Linked DNA regions of Homo sapiens: region 1 is linked to region 2. The links are contacts of gene promoters, found by promoter capture Hi-C in blood cells and fetal thymus (Javierre and others, 2016). All regions are on one chromosome and are shown on one strand. The core of a region is centred on a gene start or on the middle of the fragment in contact, and the rest is flanking DNA. Distances in the headings are between cores, read along the strand shown. Region 1 has its middle 14 kb from the start of LINC01537. Region 2 holds the start of PDE2A (phosphodiesterase 2A).

Region 1 (5,168 bases), core at 460-2,959, 120 kb after region 2:
TGGACTTCTATTGTTGCTTTTTTTTTTTTTTTTTTTTTTTTTGAGACAGAGTCTCGCTCTGTTGCCCAGGCTGGAGTGCAGTTGCGTGATCTCGCTCACTGCAAGCTCTGCCTCCTGGGTTCACGCCATTCTCCTGCCTCAGCCTCCCGAGTAGCTGGGACTACAGGTGCCCACCACCACGCCCAGTTAATTTTTTTGTATTTTTCATAGAGACGGGGTTTCACCGTGTGTTAGCCAGGATGGTCTCGATCTCCTGACCTTGTGATCCACCCGCCTCAGCCTCCCAAATTGCTGGGATTATAGGTGTGAGCCACTGCGCCCAGCCCCTGGACTTCTATTGTTTCTGATGAAAAGTCAGCCATCAGTCTTATTATTTCTCCTTTGAAAGTAATACATGTTTTTCTCTGGCTGCTTTGAATAATTTATCTTTATTTTTGGTCTGCAGAAGTTTTATCACAATGTGCTTAGATGTGGTTTTCTTTGTATTTATTCTGTTTGAGATTCATAGCATGTCTTTTTCAGTGTGGTTTGCAAATAGTATTTCTTGAATCTGTGATGATTTTGCCTTTCCTCAATCTAACTTCATCAAGTATAGATAAGTGTATTTCCCATAATTCCCAAAGCATGGTAAGAAAGTTCTACAAAATTCTACTAAAATCCTGGGATAACAGGAAAGAAATCATAATGTAGAGATAGGGAAAACATTTTAAATTAGCCACTATATTATTGTCTTTAGGGTTTAAACTTAACATACTTCCTTGGAAGAGAAGGGTCCCTGGTGGAAGTCTCTTTCTCCAGCTCCTGATCTATCACCAAGAATGTGTCCCTACCTGGAGTCAGGGCATTCCACCTTCTTATCTGATGCCTGGTGAGATGGAAAACTAGTTTCCCTCTGTCTCTCTAGTTTAGCATATGCCTCTCAGTCAACATTTACACTTTAATGCAGAACAAATTAGCATCTCATTGCTTAGAACTCCTTCATATCAGAATAAGATTTTGGATTTACTACTGAGTAATCAAAATGTCTCTTAAAATATTTGCACCAAATAATTGATCAACTTGTTACCACAGGTAAATTCTGTTTCTATTTCTATATCATATATATATAAGAAAAAAGGATATAAAGGAAAAAAATCCCAGAAGCTTTAATATAGACATTATCCTTCCTCCAACTCCACTTTTAGCCAGTAATATTGGGATCCAATCACAATTGGATATTGATATTGATCACTGAAATATTTATGTCGCTGTGGTGGGTCAAGGCCACATTATGATAGGCTTGATGATGCAGAGAGAGGGGGACACAGAAGTTGACACTGGCAAAACAAGGAATCCACTTCATGCCAACAGTGCTGATGTGGACACTCCCCCTCAGCCCAGCAGAATAAAGGGTTGCCAATGGGCAGCAAGGGCTTCCCTGCCCTGGTGGATTTGTTGCTGTGCTTTGACCATTTGGCTCCAAGTGCCCCTGTATGAGGGCATATTTGTATCTCTACCTTTACCAGCTTATTTGCTCTCTCAGCAGTGAACCAAAGTGGAAGCACCCTTGAACCCTGGTCTGAATCGCTATTCTTACCAATCTTTGTACCCAAGCAAACTCTCTGTGATCTGGCCCAGCTCACTGGTGCATATATTTTTCCAAAATAGCAGTTACAATTACCTACTTGCCCAATCCCTTCTAGACTGCCTTCCTGTTGTAGAAGCTGGAAAACTAAAATGACATTTTCTAGGCTCCTCTGCAGCTTGGGTTTCATGTGTGACCTGAGTTCCATCAGGAAAGTGCCCCAGTCAGATGTGGAGGTGGAAGTACATCCTAGGCATTGATGACTGCATGCAGGTGGATAGAATCATCTGGAAAGGAGCTGTGACAGAGGTGTCTGGGTATTTCAGGGCTGTCCATGGGGGAGTTTCTAATAGCCAGAACCTCACATAGGTGCCAAGTTACAGGTAGTGTTTCCAGTAGAAATTCCCGTGGCACAGTTGGGCGTTTTGGCTGGCTGCATTGTCCCTGGCCCTGTTGTCTTTGGCTGTGTAGCACTAAGCCTAGTTCTCTTCTCCTTCTACTTAAACCTGTATGGCGTACACAGCTAAGAACGCTGACTGGTGCAGCTTTCTTGAAGCACTGATCCCATTGGTTGTAATTGCCTGTCTTCTCTTCTAATATAGCCTGAGTTCCTTGAGGGGAGAGACTAAATCTAGTTCATTTTATGTCCTTAGCACCCAACACAGAACCTGAGATGGAGTATGGACTCAGCAAAAATTCACTGAAAGCTTAAATGACATGTGAGTCATTTATTATTAAAAATCCAATCTGAGCGATTTCATCTACTCAGGAGCCCTGGGCTGGCCTGCAGAGCTTCAGTACTATCTCAGTGGTGATCACGGTCACACAAGTCACCTCATTCAACAGAAGAAAACAGTCTGCCCAGCAAAACCATGCCTGCATGACAAACAGCCAGGCCTCCCATCAATGGGAATCATGTTCACGACGGAATCCTGCTTGCATGACTGGCTGAACATGGATCAAAACAAACTGGCTTCCAGGACACTGGCAGGTTCCAGGATGCAAAACGACATTCACTATGAGTGGGGCATATAAAAGTAGGTCAGAGAAAAAGAACAAAATTTATACTATGTTGCCATCAAATAAATTCTAAAATATCACCAATGGAAAAAAATCCTCCTTAAAGAAATGTCACCCCAAACTGCCCCTAAGCATCTGTTTTTAATCTCTTCATGTGACTCCTCATCCCTGGGTCTTCCTAGTGACCAAAACACAGGCCCCCAATTTTGTTTTCTCTCTTAAGCTTTTAGTTTTCCGTGTCACTTTTCTAAGTTGTGGGATGTGCTTCCCATGGACCCTCTTGACGGCTGGCAGCTGCCCGCCAAGGGGAAGCATCTAGACAGTAGAATGCAGTGGTTCAGGGCATGATCTCTAGCATCAGGCAGAACTGCTTCAAGTCCCTGCTCTGCCATTTCCTTGCTGCATGGCTTTGTGTAAGGCTGTTAACTTTCCCAAGTCTCAGCTTCCTCATCTATAAAATGGGAATAATGATAAACATTCTTTTTTTCTTTTTTTTTTGAGACGGAGTCTTGCTCTGTCGTCCAGGCTGGAGTACAGTGGCATGATCTCGGCTCACTGCAGCCTCCGCCTCCCGGGTTCAAGCAATTCTCCTGCCTCAGCCTCCCAAGTAGCTGGGACTATAGGCGCACGCTGCCATGCGTGGCTATTTTTTTGTATTTTTAGTAGAGACAGGGTTTCACTATGTTGGCCAGGCAGGTCTCAAACTCCTGACCTCATGATTCGCCCGCCTCGGCCTCCCAAAGTGCTGGGATTACAGGCATGAGCCACCGCCCCGGCCACAAACCTTAAGAGATAAACAAATGACCAGCAAACTTCTGAAAAAATGCTCAACATCACTAATGATCAGGGAAATGCAAATCAAAATTACGATGTGATACAATCTTATTCCTGCAAAAATGACCGTGATAAAAAAAATCAAAAAATTATAGATGTTGGCGTGGATGTGGTGAAAAGGGAACACTTTTACATTGTTGGTGGGAATGTAAATTAGTAAAACCATTGTGGAAAACAGTGTGGAGATTCCTTGAAGAACTCAAAGTAGAACTACCATTTGATCCAGCAATCCCACTCCTGGGGTATCTGCCCAGAGGACAAGAAGTCATTATACAAAAAAGATATTTGTATGCGCATGTTTATAGCAGTACAGTTTGCAATTGCAAAAATATGGAACCAGCCCTAATGCTCATCAATCAATGAGTGGATGAAGAAATTGTGGTATGTATGTATATATAGGAATGAAATATATAGGTATGTGTGTATGTATGCATGTATAGGAATGAAGTAATGGCATTTGCAGCAATCTGGATGGAATTGGAGACCATTATTCTAAGTGAAGTAACTCAGGAATGGAAAACCAAACATCGTATGTTCTCATTTGTAAGTGGGAGCTAAGCTATGAGGATGCAAAGGCATAAGAATGATACAATGGGCTTTGGGGACTTGGGGGAAAGGGTGGGAGGGGGTTGAGGGATAAAAGACTACACATTGGATACAGCGTACACTGCTCAGGTGATGGGTGCACCAAACTCTCAGAAATTACCACTAAAGAACTTATTCATGTAACCAAACACCACCTGTTCTCCTAGTGACATTTTAAAACCTAGTGACATTTTTAAAAAATAATAAACCTTGTTAAGGCTGCTGTGAGGATATTTAAGGCATGAGAGGTTTCAGCCACTGTTAAAGCTGCAGCTCTCTGAAGTGCAGGGCTCCATGAAGGTGCATTTCTGGGAAGGAGGGAGCTCATTCCTCATTTTGTCTTCAGACAAAGACAGAGGGGCCAGAAGGGACTCCCAGGAAGAGGGCTTTAGCTTCAGACACAGAAGAGCAGAAGAGACTTGGGTTCAAAACAGACAACTATAGCACTCCAGGTTGGTAGCTGTTGTGGGTTGAACTACGTCCTCCAGTCTCTAGATCTGTGCAAGTCCTCACCTCCACTATCAATGAGTGTGAAATAGGGTGTTTTTTTGAAGGTGTGATCAAGTTAAGATGGATCATATTGTGGTGAGCTGTAATCCAGCATCTGGTGTAAGAAGACTTATGAGAAGAGGGAAATAACACAGACGCACAGGAAGAAGCCCATATGAAGACGGAGGCAGAGACTGCAGTTGTGCTACCACAAACCAAGGAACCGAAGCTAGCAATCTCCAGAGGCTGGAAGAGGCAAGGAGAGATCCCTAGAACCTTCAGAGAGAACACGGCCGACACCACTGTGATTTCAGCCGTTCAGCCTCCAGAACTGTGAGACCATACATTTCTGTTGTTTGAAGTCACCCGTTTGTGACCGTTAGTTCCAGCAGCCCTAGGAAACCAACACGGTGAGTGGGTCAGGGAGGGACCCCTCAGGTCACAGGACATAGATAGATGGGAGGGAGGAGGAGACTTAGCTGATGACCATCATTTTCCAGCTTGGCATCTTGGGTCCAGCTGGCAGGATAGCCCAATCCCCGAAGACCATCTGGGATGCACACACAAGAAGCTGGCCCCCTTGACTCAAGGGGGCGCAACTGCTCCATGCCATCTATGATTTATGCTCCAGACCCTCCTTCCCCAATCAGGCCATGGCTGCCTCCACCTTAGACCA
Region 2 (4,827 bases), core at 1,766-4,265:
CACCCGGAGTTGTTGGTATGCTGGGAGAAGGCTGCATGCTCCGTGGGAGTAGGGTGGAGAATGAGGAGAGACAGGGCCGCCGTCCTGCAAGGAGCATCCATATTGAGGGGGCGAAGATAGGGTGCACCAGTGAGGGAGACAGAGGAGGGGCCGTCTGGAAGGTGGGAGGGAAACAGCCGCGCAGGACGGGGCGGGGGCGGGCGCTGAGAAGAAGCCGCCTTCTTCGGCAAAGAGGTAGCTGAAGCCTGTGGAGCCTGCAGTCCTCTCAAGGCTATGGGGGCAGCGCGGAGGCCGGATTCCAGAACTGAATCTTCCCATCGCTTTGGGCAGCCACCCTACCTCCCAGGAGCATCCTTCCTGCCATCCCACCTCCAGTTCCCCAGCTAACAAAAAACGGTGTTTCTTGACTCCCGGCAGGGCGGCGGGGCGGGCAGGTCTTGTGAACACGGCTCGCAGGGTTCAGCACCCTGGAGAGAGGCCTGTGGCCGGGGCGGGGCCTGCGGCGGGGGTAGGGGCGCGCAGTCAGAGCAGTCGGGCCTTTGGCTCCGTCTGGGAGCGGTCTTGCAGGCAGGCAATTGATGGAGGAGGGAAAAACAATCTTGGATTTTCTCCAGCTCTCTCCCCTTTATGCACCTCCCCCATCCCGGCACTGGCCTACAGGAGCCCCTATCCCAGCATTTGGGGCTATTACTCTCCTGACGACTTCAGGAAATGAGATGGGAGGAGAGGGGCAACTATTTACTGGGAACTTTTCAGACATTCCCAAAACCTCACAACCTTTTGAGCTTGGAATTCGTGACCCCATATTTCAGATGAGGAAACTAAATTGAAGTTCAGGAAGGTGAAATACCTTGCCTAGGCACTTGGCAGAGCTGGGATTTGAATTCCACCTGCCGGGCTCTAAGTCCTGAGTGCCCATTAGCCCTTCTGAGTCCTGAATCTTGCAGTTTGTTCCTGCAGACTCTCCACTTCTGGGTGGCTGTGGAGTCTGGTGTGGCAGTGGGATGGGGAGGAGACCTTCCCTTCCACCTGCTTGCTTGAGTGTATTCCCAGGAGATTTCTGAAGATGAGGCCACCACCATTGTTTCTGAAGTGGGAGGGCAGAAAGGAGGCTGAGGGCCAGGTGAGACCTCGTCACACCTGCACCCATGCATGCCCAGGAGGAACCCTCCTTTGAACTCTTCTGACTCAGCTTCTTGCTGCCAGGTTCCTCCGACCAGTGAGCAGGTTCCCAGGACATGAAGGGGAGCTGTGAGGGAGCAGGACGCCATGGTCCAGGGCTGCAGCTTCCTGAGCCCAGAGAATGCCTTCCTAGCTGTCAGGAATGGAGCAGCGAGGCCCCAGTGATAGGTGAGGTGGAGAAGCAAGACATGAGTTCTGGGCTGGCTCAGCTGCTTTACAACCAGCCTGGGCCTCGTTCCCTTTGAGAAAATGGTTTGCCCAGAGTTCAGAGATCTAAAATTCTATGATGCCTTCTGGGGCCACAGTGGGAAGCAAAGACTCCTCATATTTTCTTTCCTGACACTTCCCAGGCCACAAGACAACTGCTTTCTGCAGCACCCAGCCTGGGCAGGCCATCTACACAAGCTCAGTCATTTCTGACCTTGCCCCCTCCACCGTGCACCCCCATGTTCTTCAACATGGGTCAGGTTTCTATTCAGCCTCAGGGACTTCTCTGCTTGAAGCCTGTTGTGTGGCGGGGAGGTATTCTCCCCACAGCTCAGAGAGATGGGGTTGCTGTGGAGGGTTTGCTGTAGCTCCTCTACCCTGGAATATACCCTCTTCTGCCTTAAAAGACCCAGCTTGGACCCTCTCTTCCAGAAATGCTTGCTAACCGCCCCCCCACCACCCAAACTAGGTCAGGGGTCCCTCTGGGCTTCACAGACCCTGTGCTTCTTTCTGTCACAGCCTGCAAGTCTCCCCTCCCCACTCCCCAGCCCGAGTGCTTCTCTGAGACAAGGGATAGTGTGAGCCATGAGCTCAGCCACTGGTAGGCCAATGAATAAGTAAGTTAATGGTGAAGCCAGGATCCAAATCCCCATTTCCTGCCTCAAGGTGTGGAGCTGTTTCTCCTGCATACAATAGTAGCTCTGCTGTGACAACTCTCTATCTGTCCTAGGGCCTAAAATGCCTCTATTTCACTAGGTTATAGCTTTATCCTAGGGAGTCCTCTTTGGAAGCAGGGTGGGGGTGCAACAGGCCTTCCCCCATGCCTGTAGTCTGTGAGCAGCGAAGGCCATGTGGGGCAGGCTGTGGCCTAGGTCTCCACAGATCCTGGTAGAAGTCCATGCTCACGCATCAGCTCCAAGTCCCAGCTAAACCAAGCCACCAAGAGGTGGGCCCTGTGACAAGGCTCTGAGTCCAAAGGCCATCAGTAAAGCCCCCTAAGTCTTCCGTGGACCCAGCTCCAGGCTGGGATGCACGCTAGGAGATGATACACACCGGGTGAGGGAGCCCAGAGGAGAGGGCAGCTAGCTGTGCATGGAGGCCTGATCTCTCAGACTTGAGGGCACAAGCGTGTCCCCTCATCCTGAAGGCTTCTGCGATGGGGCAGCAGAGGGTCTGGGTCTGCTGCCCCTCAAGTCCCCAGCCCCATCCTAGCCCATGAGGATTGTAAATCCCTCGTCCTCTCCCCTCTCTCCTCTGTCAGCCACTCCCCTTTCCCCCTACCCCACTCTCTTTCTATTTCTGCCTCTGATTTTTTTTCCTTTTCTGCCTTTGTTCCTCTGTGTGTGTGTTTCTCTATGCCTCTCTGGTCTCTTTGTACTTCCATCTTGATCTCGCTAAGGCTCTGATCCCTCTCTCCTCTCCCTCTTCATGTGTTACTGTCCCCCTTCCTGTCTCTGTTTATCTCTCAGTCTCTCTGTCTGTGAGTCTTTTTTCCTCTCTCCCAGTCAGACTCTCTCTCTACCCCTCCCTCTCTCCCTCTCTCCCTCTCTGTCTGGGCCTCTCTCTGTTCCTCCTCCCTCCTCCCTCCCCCTTCTGCATTATCAGACCTGCTCCAACCTCCTCCCAGAGCCAGCCGAGCAGCAGAGGCAGTGGCAGCGGGAGAGGCGGGAGCAGCGGGGCAGCAGAGCTGGATTGGGGTGTTGAGTCCAGGCTGAGTAGGGGGCAGCCCACTGCTCTTGGTCCCTGTGCCTGCTGGGGGTGCCCTGCCCTGAACTCCAGGCAGCGGGGACAGGGCGAGGTGCCACCTTAGTCTGGCTGGGGAGGCGGACGATGAGGAGTGATGGGGCAGGCATGCGGCCACTCCATCCTCTGCAGGAGCCAGCAGTACCCGGCAGCGCGACCGGCTGAGCCGTGAGTATAGTGAGGGGCTGGGGTGGTGAGCGGCTGTGAGAGGTGCCACAGACAGGGTCCTGGGAGTCCCTCCAAGGAGCTGGGGTTGGCATGGAGCTGAGCCACGTGGAAGGATCGATCCTGTTCCTGGGCACCCCTCCTCCCCGCGTTGCCAGACTGCAGCCTGGGGTGGGGGCAGGTTACCTCTGAGCAGAATGAGGGTGTCTAACGTCAACCTAGTAGGTGATGAGGCTGGGGTCCCATGGAAGGGGCTGCTGGTTGGAGGAGGGGCTGATAATGAACCTGAACCGGTTCTTCAAGGGCTGAGGGTGTATGTGGGGAGGGGGAGGTCTGCCAAGTAGTTGGGAGGAGCTCTCGGGGCTGCAATAGGCTGGTTCAGGACCCGGAGAGGGAGAGTGTCTTGGCCCACCAAGGCTATGTGTGTGTGAAGGAGGTGGGGAGGGGGAAAGATGGAGAAAATATGAATAAGAGTGGCCCTGGAGCAAGAGAGGGTTAGAGGTAACCACCTTCCATGGAATTGGGAATTGGGGTTCAGGGACACCACTTTATGAAACTTTACCCCAAAGCGTCTGTCCCAGGATAGGGTTCTACGGAGCCAGATGGAATATGGTGCCAGCCTCGTGTGTGTCCACGTGCAGGGGGGTGCATGTGCAAGTGAGTGGGGGGCGCCGTGGCGACACCCCTCTACTAAGGGCTGCCGAGGTGGTAGGCAGGGTATGTGTGTGTGTGTGTGTGTGTATACATGTGGAATGTAAGGGACATGTTGGGTGTAGAGGGGCCTGTAGAGCTCTAGGGTCCTTGGTGGTTGGATGTAAAGCAGCCTGTCAGAGTTTGTGATCATCCCTGTGTGAGTGAGAGTTTATTCGCATGTGTCTGAGTGTGAGTGCAGGTTGGTCTGCATATGTATGTAGGTGTGTCTATTAGGTTGAGTTTGTATATTATGTGTGTTGTGTCTGCAAAATAGAGTGAATCAGTGTGCATTTTTTATCTGTTCCATGTGCATTTATGTGTGTGTATTTGTTAGTGTGTGAATAATAGCATTGCTGTGTGTGGAGGTGGATGTGGCTGTGTGCGTATAAGTATTCTGGTGTGGGTGTGTGATCATGGTGCTAGTGTGTATATCGGTGCTTCTGTGGCTGGTGTGTGTGTGTATCTATATGTGTGTATTCATCTGAGTGTGTGTGGGTGGCTGTTTCCTTCCCCTGGCAATTGAGGATACAGCTGGGACACCATGGCCCACTGATGCAGGGCAGGGAGGGGCTGAATGTATGACCGCCTCTTTGAACTCAGGACAATTCATTCTACACCCTGTGGGAAAGATGCAGAAAAGAAATAGGCAATAATGACTCTGCCCTCTGGGGCTTCCTAAGCTTCTTAGACATAAAATAGCTTGAGAATAATTAAGCAGTAGAGATCAACGTCATGCTAACAGGTGGGGGTGGGGTGGGAACTGCATAAGCAAAGGCCCTGGGCTGGGCATGTCCTGGAGCAGTGAAGACACTGTATAGAGTGGGGGGCAGGCAGGAC

What was found. The method cuts DNA at HindIII sites, captures the fragments that hold promoters and counts their contacts. A CHiCAGO score of 5 or more calls a contact.
Region 1: a contact is called between a fragment that was not itself captured here and the fragment with the promoter of PDE2A in region 2, in 2 of 17 cell types (endothelial precursors and megakaryocytes). The highest score is 5.3, in endothelial precursors.

What each region holds. Positions count from the first base shown.
Region 1 is chr11:72,553,861-72,559,028 of GRCh38, reverse strand. No RefSeq gene overlaps it. Among named protein-coding and RNA genes, the nearest start is that of LINC01537, 14 kb to the left of the region's middle. The HindIII fragment of the contact is 1,128 bases long and covers 1,146-2,273 here.
Region 2 is chr11:72,672,610-72,677,436 of GRCh38, reverse strand. It overlaps PDE2A (phosphodiesterase 2A), which reads left to right and starts at 3,015. Exons shown (of 31, transcript NM_002599.5): 1 at 3,015-3,300. The coding sequence starts at 3,230. RefSeq lists a silencer at 381-430 and enhancers at 1,291-1,791, 1,942-2,566, 2,567-3,193, 3,194-3,819, 3,820-4,446. The HindIII fragment of the contact is 6,386 bases long and covers 1-4,672 here.